Regions from separate parts of the Homo sapiens genome. Here all the other regions are linked to region 3. The links are contacts of gene promoters, found by promoter capture Hi-C in blood cells and fetal thymus (Javierre and others, 2016). All regions are on one chromosome and are shown on one strand. Each heading gives the region's core, a stretch centred on a gene start or on the middle of the fragment in contact. The rest is flanking DNA. Distances are from core to core; before and after follow the strand shown. Region 1 holds the start of FBL (fibrillarin). Region 2 holds the start of PSMC4 (proteasome 26S subunit, ATPase 4). Region 3 holds the start of EIF3K (eukaryotic translation initiation factor 3 subunit K).

Region 1 (3,669 bases), core at 345-2,844, 1.2 Mb before region 3:
CAGGTGCAAGCAACCATACCCAGCTAATTTTTTATTTTTTGTAAAGATAAGGTCTCACTCTGTAGCCCAGGCTGGCCTTAAGCTCCTGGGCTCAAGCGATCCTCCTGCCTCGGCCTCCCAAAGTGCCTGGATTACAGGTGTGAGCCACTGCCCCGACCGGTTCTGAAAAGTTTAAGCAGATTTTCCATCATAATATCTAAACAATCTTTCAGGAATGTTTCTGTGCAAATTGGTGGCATTCCACAGCTGGAACACTGTACACAGAGAACTCACAACGGTATGAGGCCATCCATTCATTCAACAAACATTTACTGGGCACCCAGAGGGCTGTCCTAGGCCTAGAGTGATAGAGCAGTGAATGGAACAGAGTCAACATCTAGGCTCTGGACTGGTAGGTTCTTCTGGAGTTTTTCGGTAACTTCTCATAACAGCAGTTGTCTTGCTTTGCAGAATGAATATAGGGATGGATACTGATATTACACAATTACAAAGCCCAAAATTCTTAATACTTAAGCAGAATCTGTTGACCCCTGACGCCGCTCTCTGCCCCCACTCTGATCTGTCCATCCTTTTCTTCTGATTCACGGCAGCAGCCAGTCCTTGGTTTTCCTGCTTTCACCCTCACTCCTGCAGTCTGCTTCCCACATGCAGCCAGAGGGACCTGTGTCAGATCACATTCCTTCTCTGCTTGGAACCCTTCCATGGTTCCATCTTACTGCCTAAGTCCTCACTATGTCCCACAAAGCTCCGCACAATCTGCCCTTGTTAGCTACCCGCCCTTATCTCCTCTTACTCTCCACCTTGCTCACTTTGCCCCACCCACCCTCCTCATTGTCTCTCCAACTTCCCATATCTTTCCTTCCTCAGGGCCTCTGCATCTGCAGATCTTTTCCCTGCCTGGAACTCTCTTCCCCTAGATAGGTGCATGCCTCACTCCTCACTTCCTTCAGCCCTTTAGCTCAAAAGTCTCCTGATGCATTCCTTGACCACCGTGCCAAAAAAACAAAAATCATTTGCCCTCCAAAATCTCTATCCCCTTTCCCTGCTGTTATTTTCTCCAAAGCACTTATCGCTTTCAAACATTCAACATGTTTGGTGTCTATTTCCTCCATTAAAAAGATGAACTCCAGGAGAGTGGAGATTTTTATGTCTCGTACACCGCTGTATTCCCAGCTCCTAGAACAGCACCTGGTACACACGAGGTGCACTGTAAATGTTTTTCGGATGTTTGAATGGAAGCCCAGAGTCGGTCACTGTTCTTGGGGCTGGAAATGTATTGGGGAAGCCTTTTTGGGTGTACAGGGGCCAGAGGGATTTAGCTAGGAATACAAAAGAGGGCACAGCCCGTGCGAAGGCTATGAGCCCTGATTATTGGGGTGCTCGCATTGGGGAAGAGGAAACCGGAAGCGAGTTTAGGGCGACCGCTGCACAGGCAAAGGCTGGGAAGGCAGAGAGCGAGGGCAGCGGGTTGCGTGTCGACAGGCTCGAGAATCCAGGCTCACTGCGCGTGCGCCGAGCTCCGGGCGGGGAAGGGGCCCGGGGGCGGGACTACGGGGTGGCGTCACGCAGCGCACGTCGCCGCGCGCCTGCGCTCTTTTCCACGTGCGAAAGCCCCGGACTCGTGGAGTTGTGAACGCCGCGGACTCCGGAGCCGCACAAACCAGGGCTCGCCATGAAGCCAGGTCAGGCTGGGGTGAGGGTCCGGGGTCAGGGACGGAGGCCGGGCGGGAATCCGGGTGCCAGGCCAGAATCGGAGGGGTGGGGCCTTGGCCTGGGGGCAGGGGTTCTGAGCACGGGTTCCAGTCTCCTGTGGGAAGGGGGATTCTGATTCCAGCAGGTCTAGGGGTTTGTGACTGGCTTCAGAGGTCACGGTCGTGAGTCGAAGAAGGCCGTGGGCCTGGCATTGGGGGTGTTGACGTGGGGTTCGTCTCATTGAGGCCGTCTAATAGGGATTTTGGATATTGGGCAGGAGGCGGCACTCAAGGGTCTTGGGCTAGAGTTTGGATTCAGGCATCTGGAGTCTTGGATCGCTGGGCGTGTTTTGGGAATCAGGCTTGGGTCGGAGATGGAGAGTTCCTGACCTTGGGTCCTGGAGCTGTGTGTGGGAAGCCCCCATTTGCCTTCCCTGTCGCTGCCACCACCACCATCCCCTTATCCCGCATCCCAGCTTTTCCGAGTGGGCCGGAGTGGATGAGGACTCCCCGGTTGGCCGTGTGCGGCGCTCTTCGGCTCACTTTCCCGCCTTCTGCACTTACAGTGGGGCGGATCCCCGGGGATGGAGTGGAGATTTGGGGATTAAGATTTCCACCTCCGGGACGAGACTTAACAAGCTCGGCATTAGTCTGGGGTGGTGGGGCGGGTGGTTGTCACAGGAGGTAAGTAGTTTTATTCTTAAGATTTTCCACTAGATTCTGCTGAAACCACTCCCTTCATGGTGGAATGATGAGGGGGTCCTGGCTTTGACAGCAGAAGGGCCTCAGTTCAGTGTGTCAGCTCTTGCTCAGCTTCTTAGCCTGCTGTGTGAACTTGGGCAAGTGGCTTTACCTCTCTGAGCCTCTGTTTTCTCATCAATAAAATGGCGCCAGTTAGGATTAAGCGACGTTAAAAAAAATAGCACAGTGCTTGACATATAATAGTATTAGCTCTAATTGTTACCTTTATCTTTCTCAAAGAGAACAACATTAGAATCCTTCTCGGTGGTGCCTGAGCACTTCCTCCATCTGGCCTGCCCAACCCGCACTCATCTGTGTGAGAACTTGCTTCATTGAGTTTGGAGAATTTCCACCATGGCCCAAAGGGTCTGTTTTCCTAGTACAGGCTTTCTTTTTCTTTTGTGTGTGTGTTTGTGTGGAGAGATGGGGGTCACCTGGCAGGAGATTTGTGGATCTGTGCCCTTCTCCCAAGTTCCCTTTCTCTTCCGTGTTTGGGGATCTCTTGATGAAGTGGGGTGGGGGATTGTAGGCCAGGTATGCTGAGATCCTGGCTTGCCTGCAGGCATTCTGGTCTGTGATTCCCTCATAAATGGAGGATACCCGTTCTTCCAACCTTCCTCCATGTGTGGTAGAATGTGAAGTTGTAAAAGTTGTCAGGTGTTAGCTCTTTAGTAAGGATTTTAGCCTGAGTGAGAAAAGAACCCTTTGGGAGATTTTTGAGCAGGGGCGTGGTGCAGTCTGACATTTTTAAAAGGGATTCTTTTTGCTTCGATGTGTGAAAGACCTCAGGGTGGCAAAAGTGGAAGCAGGCACATTGGTGGGAAGCTTGTTGCTGTAATCTAGGAGATGGTGTGGTGGACCAGGATGGGAGCAGTGGACATGCTGACAGTTTTACATGCTTTTGAAGACAGAACCAACAGATTGTATGTGGGTGTGTGATCGGAGTCAAGGATAACCAAGGGTTTGGGGGTGTGTAACTGGAAGGATGGAATTGCCATTTTTGAGATGGAGAAGGCTGTGGAAGGAGAGCAGATTTTAAATCAGGGGGTTTATGGACCCCCCTCCCCCCAAAAAAAGAACTTACTGGAAAAGTTTGTGTGAACATGTGTTTTTTCTGAGGACTGGGTACTTTTGGTACATTTTCCCCCAAAAGCTCCAGGACCTGAAACGGATTGAGATGTTTTGAGTATCTGGGATTGAAAGTTTACACTCATGCCCACTCCGCCCCAAGCACATG
Region 2 (3,767 bases), core at 225-2,724, 1.4 Mb before region 3:
CTGCCTTGTTTGCTGCTGCCTAGCACATGGTAGGAAATAGTTGTTAAGTGGACAGATGAATGAATGAGGTGTCCTTAGCACACCTGTGGTAGAGCCCACGATGGCTGTATTCTGATCCACAGCCTCCAGAAATTGTCCGATGACCAGCGGGATGCTTTGGATTCGCTTCACCTCCTCCTGGGCATGGAGAAATTCCTTTTTCAGGTTCTTTTGCTCATCTTTGATGTATTCCTCCTGCACCTCCAGGAACTCCAGCTCTTGCTGCAGCTTCTGCGAGCAGAGAGGGGACAGAAGGGGATGGCTCCAGACTTGCTGATCCAGAGAGTGGTGGAAAGTGGGGAAGAGTATGAGATGTCAGGTCCTGTGCAAGGTCTGGGTTGGGGGTCGAATGTACCTTGTAGCGGCTGTACAGGTCCTCCAGGTCCTCAGGCTCAGGGCCCAGGAAGGACAGGCCGGTCTGGGGCCGGGACACGGACAGTGCTGGGATCTCATCCTAGACGAAAGGGGATAACTCACATTGGAAGAAGACAGTCCTCTCATGAAAGCTTCCCAACTTCACTAATGTTTGTTCCCCTCCCCACTTCACCCTGATGTCACTTAGCCCCTAACAGACCCCTGATATCTTAAGACCCTCTAAATAGATCCTGGAAACCTTTTGGCCACCTAAACAAGCTCTTTATGTCAACTTGCCCCTCAAACAGATCTTATGTTATCATATACCACTCATAACATGTCCCCAGTGTCACACAACCCCCAACTAGGATCTAAACGTCACATCAACTCCTTATCAGACCCAAATGCCACCCAATCCCCTTCAAGAGGTTCCTAATGTCACATGGCTCTCCTAGATAGGCTGTTAAAGTGACTGCGCCTTCAACGAGTCCCAACATTCCCCAGTTTCCCCTCAAAGATCCCTTATGTCACAGTCTCCTAACTCACCTTAGACCTAAATATCACTCAGGCAAGCCACAGATAATACTTAACTACCCGCCCCATTACCCCCATCAGCAAAGCCCTGAACATCAGTCAGCCCCGCAGCCCAGACCCGGGGATCACTCGGCCGCACGGCGGGATCCCATATATCACTCACCGCCTGACCCAATCCCAACGCCGGGCCACCGACCTCACTAAGCACTACCGGCCAGGGTTCGAAATCAATCCGTCTCAAAGACCCACTAACGTCACTCACTCCCCCAGCCCCGCTTTCTGAGCCTTACCTCCTACCATCACTCGGCCACCCAGACAGGCCTTCGAATGGCACAAAGCTCTCCACCGAGGCCTCTAAAATAACCCCAACCTGGGCCGGGGTCCTGGAAGCCATTCCTCCCCCCACTCAGGTCTGGCTTCACCCTCTCCCCGCGAGCCCGGCCCGGACTAAAAAGCCCAAGTCCCCACTGTACCTGAGCCTTCTCCACCAAGATGCCTATCTCCTCCATAGTGACCAAGCCGGCCTCTGTGTGGCCTGGGATGATCTGTCACCGCTTCCGCTGACGACAACGGAAGTCCCTGGCTGAGGAGGCTTCTGGGAAGTGTAGTTTAAGTTACGGCTGAGAGGTGCTGGAAGGGCAGGATAGGACGAAGGGCTGGTCTGGGCTCCGCCCTCAACATAAGCTCATGCGCTGTCCGTACCCGCAGGCGCGAGGGCGGGACGGGAGCTGTGGGCGTGCGCAGTATCACGCGGTGGCGCCATCTCGCCCTGCCGTGGAGGGCTGGGGGTTCTCTCCGGGAGGTGGCGCAGCCCCGTTGCTCTTTCAACGGAGTAAGTTCGCAGAGCTCTGGCACGGACAGTCTGGCGGCCAACTGCTCTTCGCTTTCTAGTGTCTGGGCTGGAGGGTCCTTGAGCTGGGTTCCACAGAAGGGATTGATCGTACGGGCGGGTAAGGTCTCCACGTGGCGCTGATCCAAAGATTGTGCGCCGCGCGGGCGTGGGAAGATCCGAGCTGCCCCTGAAGGTGACATTTCATACTGGGCTTTACCCCGGGATTGAGGAGCCCCGAGCCCGCAGTGAGCAACCAATCGAGTAGAACCCACGCGTCTGGGCTGGGGAAAAGGAGGCAGCGAGTGCCCAGAAGTTGGGTAGCACAGGAGATCCATAGACCTTAGTTCTGTATCCCAGGTTTCCGCCTTACAGATCTATGCCAGGTCCTGCGCTTAAGCTTTACAGGCATCATCGTCGCAAGTATTATGTTTCCTCATTTATAGAGAAGGAGACAAGCTCAGAGCCACGAAGCCACCAGCCACAGTCAACAATGTGCCGAAGGGACAAAGCATAGATTGGGACCCAGGTCTGTCTGTCCCCAAAGCCTGTACTCTTGGCCCCAGGGAAACACTGCTACCCTTCACACCAGCTACAATTTTTGTTAAGTAAACCTTTTATTGAAGTTAAATAAAGAGAAGAGCACAAATCATTACAGCTCGACAAAATTACACAAAGTGAACATGCCCATACAACCTGAATCCAGATCGCAAAACCAAACAGTAGAAGCCTCATGTGCTCCCCTTTCCCCCATCCCTTCTTCTCCCCCCTCCACTCCCCGCCCCGAGACGGAGTCTCACTCTGTTGCCCAGGCTAATATTTGTATTTTTAGTAGAGACAGGGTTTCACCATGTTGGCCAGGCCGGTCACAAACTCCTGACCTCAAGTGATCTGCCTGCCTTGGCCTCCCAAAGTGCTGGGATTATAGGCGTGAGCCACCACATCCGGCCTCCCGATCCCTTCTAAAGGTTATCATTCATCTGTTTTTTTCTTTTTTTTTTAAGAGCTAGAGTCTCTGTCGCCCAGGCTGGAGTGCAGTGGCACGATCATAGCTCACTAGAGTCTCCAACTGCTGGCCTCAAGCTATCCTCTCTCCTCAGCCTCTGAAAGCACTGGGATTACAGGCATGACCCACCCCATGTAGCCTTTAAAAATATATCTTTTGAAAGAGATTCTTGCTCTGTTGCCCAGGCTGGAGTGCAGTGGTGAGATCACTACTCACTCCAGGTTCAACCTCCCAGACTCAAGCAATCCTATACCTCAGCTTCCCAAGCACCTGGAACTACAGGCGTGTGCCACCACGCCTTGCTAATTTTAAAATGTTTTTTGTAGAGATAGGGTTTCGCTGTGTTGCCCAGGCTGGTCACGAACTCCTGGACTCAGATGATCCTCCCACTTCAGCCTTCCAAAGTGCTGGGATTACAGACATGAGCCACTGTGCCTGGCTGGACTCGCCCTGACTTGTAACAGCTGGGTTACTTTTGTTTGTTTTGAATTCTCCTTCTCTCTAGACCAGTACTCTGTGTACTGTGTTTGGTTTCTTTTAGTTAATGTTGTTTTTGTGAGATTCATGCATACCGTGTGTAGAAATAGTTCTTTCATTTTCATTCTGGATGGTTTCCATTTTATGACTATGCCCTATACCTCAGACTGGATATTTTCCAGTTTAGGGGTGTTATAGTGCTATTGTTACTGGGGGTCCTTGTTCTTAGAGCTCCCAAGATGGTGGTGGGCCGCTTCCAAGATGGCAGTAAGTCTCTTGTTCTCTGACCTGGGGTTCTTGGCCTCACGGATTCCAAGGAATGGAATCTTGGGCCATGCGGTGAGTGTTATAGCTCTATTCAGCTCGATTAGGAGGAACCCCGGGCACTTAGCCCGCGCAAGAACAATGGTGAGCCTCTAGCCCAATTGGGAGCGGCAATGGGTGCCGCCTCGCTGGATCAGAAGTGCAGTGGACACCCGGATCCGGAGGGGTGGAAGTCAGCGGCAGGTCTGCCACAGCTGCCATGGC
Region 3 (3,655 bases), core at 1,156-3,655:
GGGAGCAGGGGAATTGGTTGGCATAGAGCATAGGGGGCAAAGAGCCTGTGGTGCTAGCAATAACTTTGCAACATAAATGGTGATTATGTAGGCTTTCATTTATAATGATTTGTTAAACTACATGTTTGCTTAATGTATTAGCCTGTACATGTGTTCTGTAATTAACCTTTATTTATTTTTGAGACAGGGTCTCACTCTGTCGCCCAAGCTGGAGTGCAGTGGTATGATCTTGGCTCACTGCAACCTCTGCCTCCCAGGCTCAAAAAATTCTCCTGCCTCAGCCTCCCAAGGAGCTGGGACTACAGCCATGCGCCACTGGGCCCAGCTAATTTTTGTAGAGACAGGGTTGTGCCATGTCACCCAAATTGGTAATTCTTTTTTTTTTTTTTTTTTTTAAAAAGAGGGGTCTCACTCTGTCCCCCAGGCTGGAGTGCAGTGGCACTATCATGGCTCACTGCACCTTAATCTTCCAGGCTTAAGCGATCCTTCCACCTCAGCCTCTCAAGTAGCTGGAACTACAGCCACACACCGCTACATTAATTTTTAAATTTTTTCGTAGGGTTGGGTCTCGCTATGTTGCCATGGATGGTCTCGAACTCTTTGGCTCAAGTGAGTCTCTCGCCTCAGCCTCCCAAAGTGCTGGGATTACAGGCATGAGCCCCTGCGGCCACCCTAATTGATTTTTTATTATTATTTTTGAGACGGAGTTTCGGTCTTGTTGCCCAGGCTGGAGTGCAATGGCGCGATCTTGGTTCACCACAATCTCCGCCTCCTGGGTTCAAGCAATTCTCCTGCCTCAGCCTCCCGAGTAGCTGGGATTACAGGCATGTGGCACCACGCCTGGCTAATTTGGTATTTTTTAGTAAAGATGGGGTTTCTCCGTGTTGGCCAGGCTGGTCTCAAACTCCCTACCTCAGGTGATCCGCCTGCCTCATCCTCCCAAAGTGCTGGGATAACAGGCGTGAGTCACCGCGCCCGGCAATTGATTTTTCAAAAACCATCCCTCCTCCTGTCCCAACTTCCTTGGCTTCCTAGTCTTGCACACCAAGAGATGCTGCATTGTTCAGGATACTACCAGCCACCCCCTTGCCCTGTACTGGGAGTGGCACCCTGCTAGTTGCTGCAATGGGAGTGTAGACAGAGAGCTAGACACTTACAGCTTCAGGACAGCCAGGTTGGCTTCCAGATCATAGGCATTTTCCTTGGCCTGCGTCTCTACATAGCGCTCCAGGGTGGCCAGGTTCTCAGGATTGTACCTAAAGGAGAATCAAGATAGGTGAGCACAGAGGAGACAGAAGCTGAGGCCAGCCACCTTATGGAGCAAGGGGCCACTGTAACCTGCTCCTCCCGCCCTTCCCCTCTAAATCTGGCACTGGCCACTTGCTCTATCCAGGTAGTGAATTATGTCCAGTATAATCTCTAGTAAAACTTATTCTTATCCCAGACCTCTCGCCTAAGCTCTAAACTCCACTGGAGCCCTGGCTCTTCCCTAGGATGCCTCCTCAACCTCTGAGCCAGTCAGTCACTGCAGCTTGTACACCTGGCCTCCTGAATGTCTCTGCTACTCACCCCTTCCTCCCCTGTTCAGGCCTCCACCCTGATCCAGCCCCATCCTCTCCTGCCTACCTCGCTGCCTACTTCCTCCATGTCCACCTGAACACTCTGGCCTTTGCTTCCCCCATTTCAGTTCTAATCTCTCCCGGCTATCGCTGTCTGCTGTCAGGTTTGTCTCCCTTATGGAAAGGGAACTCAGACCGTGAAGGCATGATCTGCCGCTGTCTGATTCGCCTGTGGTTCCCAGCATTGCCTAGCACTGACAGTTTATTTCAGTAAACGTGTGGAGAATGAATGACTTATAGAGCAGAGAAGGGAGAGATTAAGAGGCACTCAAAGGAGGCGGAGCAGAGAAGGAAACCTTAAGGCAATTTACGAAGAGACTGAGTGGTACCAAGATTCTCTCGCTTCTAGGCCTTTGCAGTGCTTTTGTTTCTTTCTTTTAGAGACGGGGTTTGGCTGTTGCCCAGGCTGGTCTCTAACTCCTGGGCTCAGGCGACCCACCTACCTCGGCCTCCCAAAGTGCTAGGATCACAGGCGTGAGCCACTACCCCCAGCTCAGTGCCGTTTCTTTAAGCATCTCCTCCTCCAGGAGGATAGAGAAACCCCACCCCGCGGCAAGCCCAGGACCCTGAACACCCCTTGCTGTCTCCGGAAAACCCTCTCCTCCGCCCCGCTTGGCCAGAGCGCTTCCTCCAACCGGGCTCAGACCTGTCGATACCCTTGAGCAACTTGCCCACGTTGGCTCTCATCTGCTCAAACATCGCCATGACTTCTGTCGCCTTCCACAACCAGGGCTGGAGGCTAACACTGACCCGGCACGGCGTCCTCAAGGACGGGAACAGGAAGAGGTGGTGGAAACGGAAACGACGTCGTTGTTGTCGCTCCAGCTCCTTGGGTGCGGTAAAGGGAAAGGCTCTAGCAGCAGCCGCCACGCTTTCCGGCTGCCACGTGACTTCTTCCTCGCAGGCGCAATTGGCGCGTGCGCATTCGCGCCACTCAAGCTGGACAGACAGCGTGAGAAAAATCTTACTGGATCCCAGTGCGCAGGCGCCTCTCGTGGCGAGGGGGCGGGGCTAAGCTTTTCCCGGGCCTCACAGACCCAGTTCCAGTGCCGGTAGCGCGGGAGCGTGCGCGCGCGAACTCACCGGGAAGCACCCGGAGCTCTGGCGGCGTGCGCGCGCGTTGTATTGCGCGCGGCCATGAGGCCACGGAGCTCTGCGGGAATGCACGCAGCAGCCTTACGTTTAGGCCATGGCCAAGTTCCGAGGGAGGTGTTCTGAGGTCCCTCTTGCCACAGGCCTGGGCGCCTGGTGCAGGATCCTGAGCTCTCCAGTTTCAAGTCTCAGCCCTTGGTCCCCAGCTCCAGGAGGAGGGTCCCACAAAGCTACTGTGCTCTGCCGGGCAGGGGCTGGGGTGAGGGCTCCTGGACTTCGCCGGATCGCGCCCCGTCTCCATTAGGTTCCGGTCTTGGAGCTGAGGGCGAGCGTCCCATTTGTACTGCCATGAATTATATATTATGTATAGGTTTTGTACACTGCAGGCCTACAAAATGCAGTTATGTGCCATGCATGTGGAGGTATATGTCCTGGGTACATCCACGTGTGTACTGTGCACACAGGTATCCAGGCAGATGCACGTCTACACGCCTGCGCAGTGCAGAGGAGGTAACCCAAGTGCATGTATGTGACAGGTGAACAGGCATGTACACTGCATAGCCATCCCTTTGCAGACCTGCCGCCTTCGGGTTGTGGCCAAACCTTCAAGCACCCAGCAGAGGTTTAGACACTACCTAGGAGACGGGGGCGGGGGTTCTAAGGCACCCCCCTCCAACCCAGTTACGATTAAGATCATTTGCATCACATTTACATCCAGCCCTGGGCCTTGGAGGTTGAGGGTGGTCCCTTGGGTCCCAAGACAAGCTGCCCCTCAGAGGCTCTCAGAGCCCAGGGGACGGGGGGGTGGAGCCCGTTGCACAGTCGTGCAGTGCAGCTGGGGCAGGAAGCGAGAGTGAGGAGGGGGGAGGCCACAGCCCGCGGAGGCAAGGCGGGTGCAGGGCTTCTGGGGACGGAGGGAGGTGCCAGAAGTTGAGCCCTGAGGC

Evidence for each region. Contacts are between HindIII fragments. The CHiCAGO score rates a contact against its expected background, and 5 or more counts as called.
Region 1: a contact is called between the fragment with the promoter of FBL here and the fragment with the promoter of EIF3K in region 3, in 1 of 17 cell types (fetal thymus). The highest score is 5.3, in fetal thymus.
Region 2: a contact is called between the fragment with the promoter of PSMC4 here and the fragment with the promoter of EIF3K in region 3, in 1 of 17 cell types (fetal thymus). The highest score is 6.8, in fetal thymus.

Annotation. Positions count from the first base shown.
Region 1 is chr19:39,844,304-39,847,972 of GRCh38, reverse strand. FBL (fibrillarin) reads left to right here and starts at 1,594. Exons shown (of 9, transcript NM_001436.4): 1 at 1,594-1,682. The coding sequence starts at 1,673. RefSeq lists an enhancer at 2,049-2,789. The HindIII fragment of the contact is 4,240 bases long and covers 1-3,259 here.
Region 2 is chr19:39,968,872-39,972,638 of GRCh38, reverse strand. It overlaps PSMC4 (proteasome 26S subunit, ATPase 4), which reads right to left and starts at 1,474. Exons shown (of 11, transcript NM_006503.4): 1 at 1,401-1,474; 2 at 395-493; 3 at 84-270. The coding sequence starts at 1,436. It overlaps LOC124904720 (a long non-coding RNA gene), which reads left to right and starts at 1,668. Exons shown (of 3, transcript XR_007067260.1): 1 at 1,668-1,759; 2 at 2,203-2,285. RefSeq lists enhancers at 511-1,190, 1,215-1,604, 2,105-2,154. The HindIII fragment of the contact is 1,611 bases long and covers 548-2,158 here.
Region 3 is chr19:38,617,938-38,621,592 of GRCh38, reverse strand. EIF3K (eukaryotic translation initiation factor 3 subunit K) reads right to left here and starts at 2,405. Exons shown (of 8, transcript NM_013234.4): 1 at 2,266-2,405; 2 at 1,158-1,256. The coding sequence starts at 2,324. It overlaps MAP4K1 (mitogen-activated protein kinase kinase kinase kinase 1), which reads left to right and starts at 3,640. Exons shown (of 31, transcript NM_001042600.3): 1 at 3,640-3,655. RefSeq lists an enhancer at 3,067-3,116. The HindIII fragment of the contact is 6,969 bases long and covers 1-2,637 here.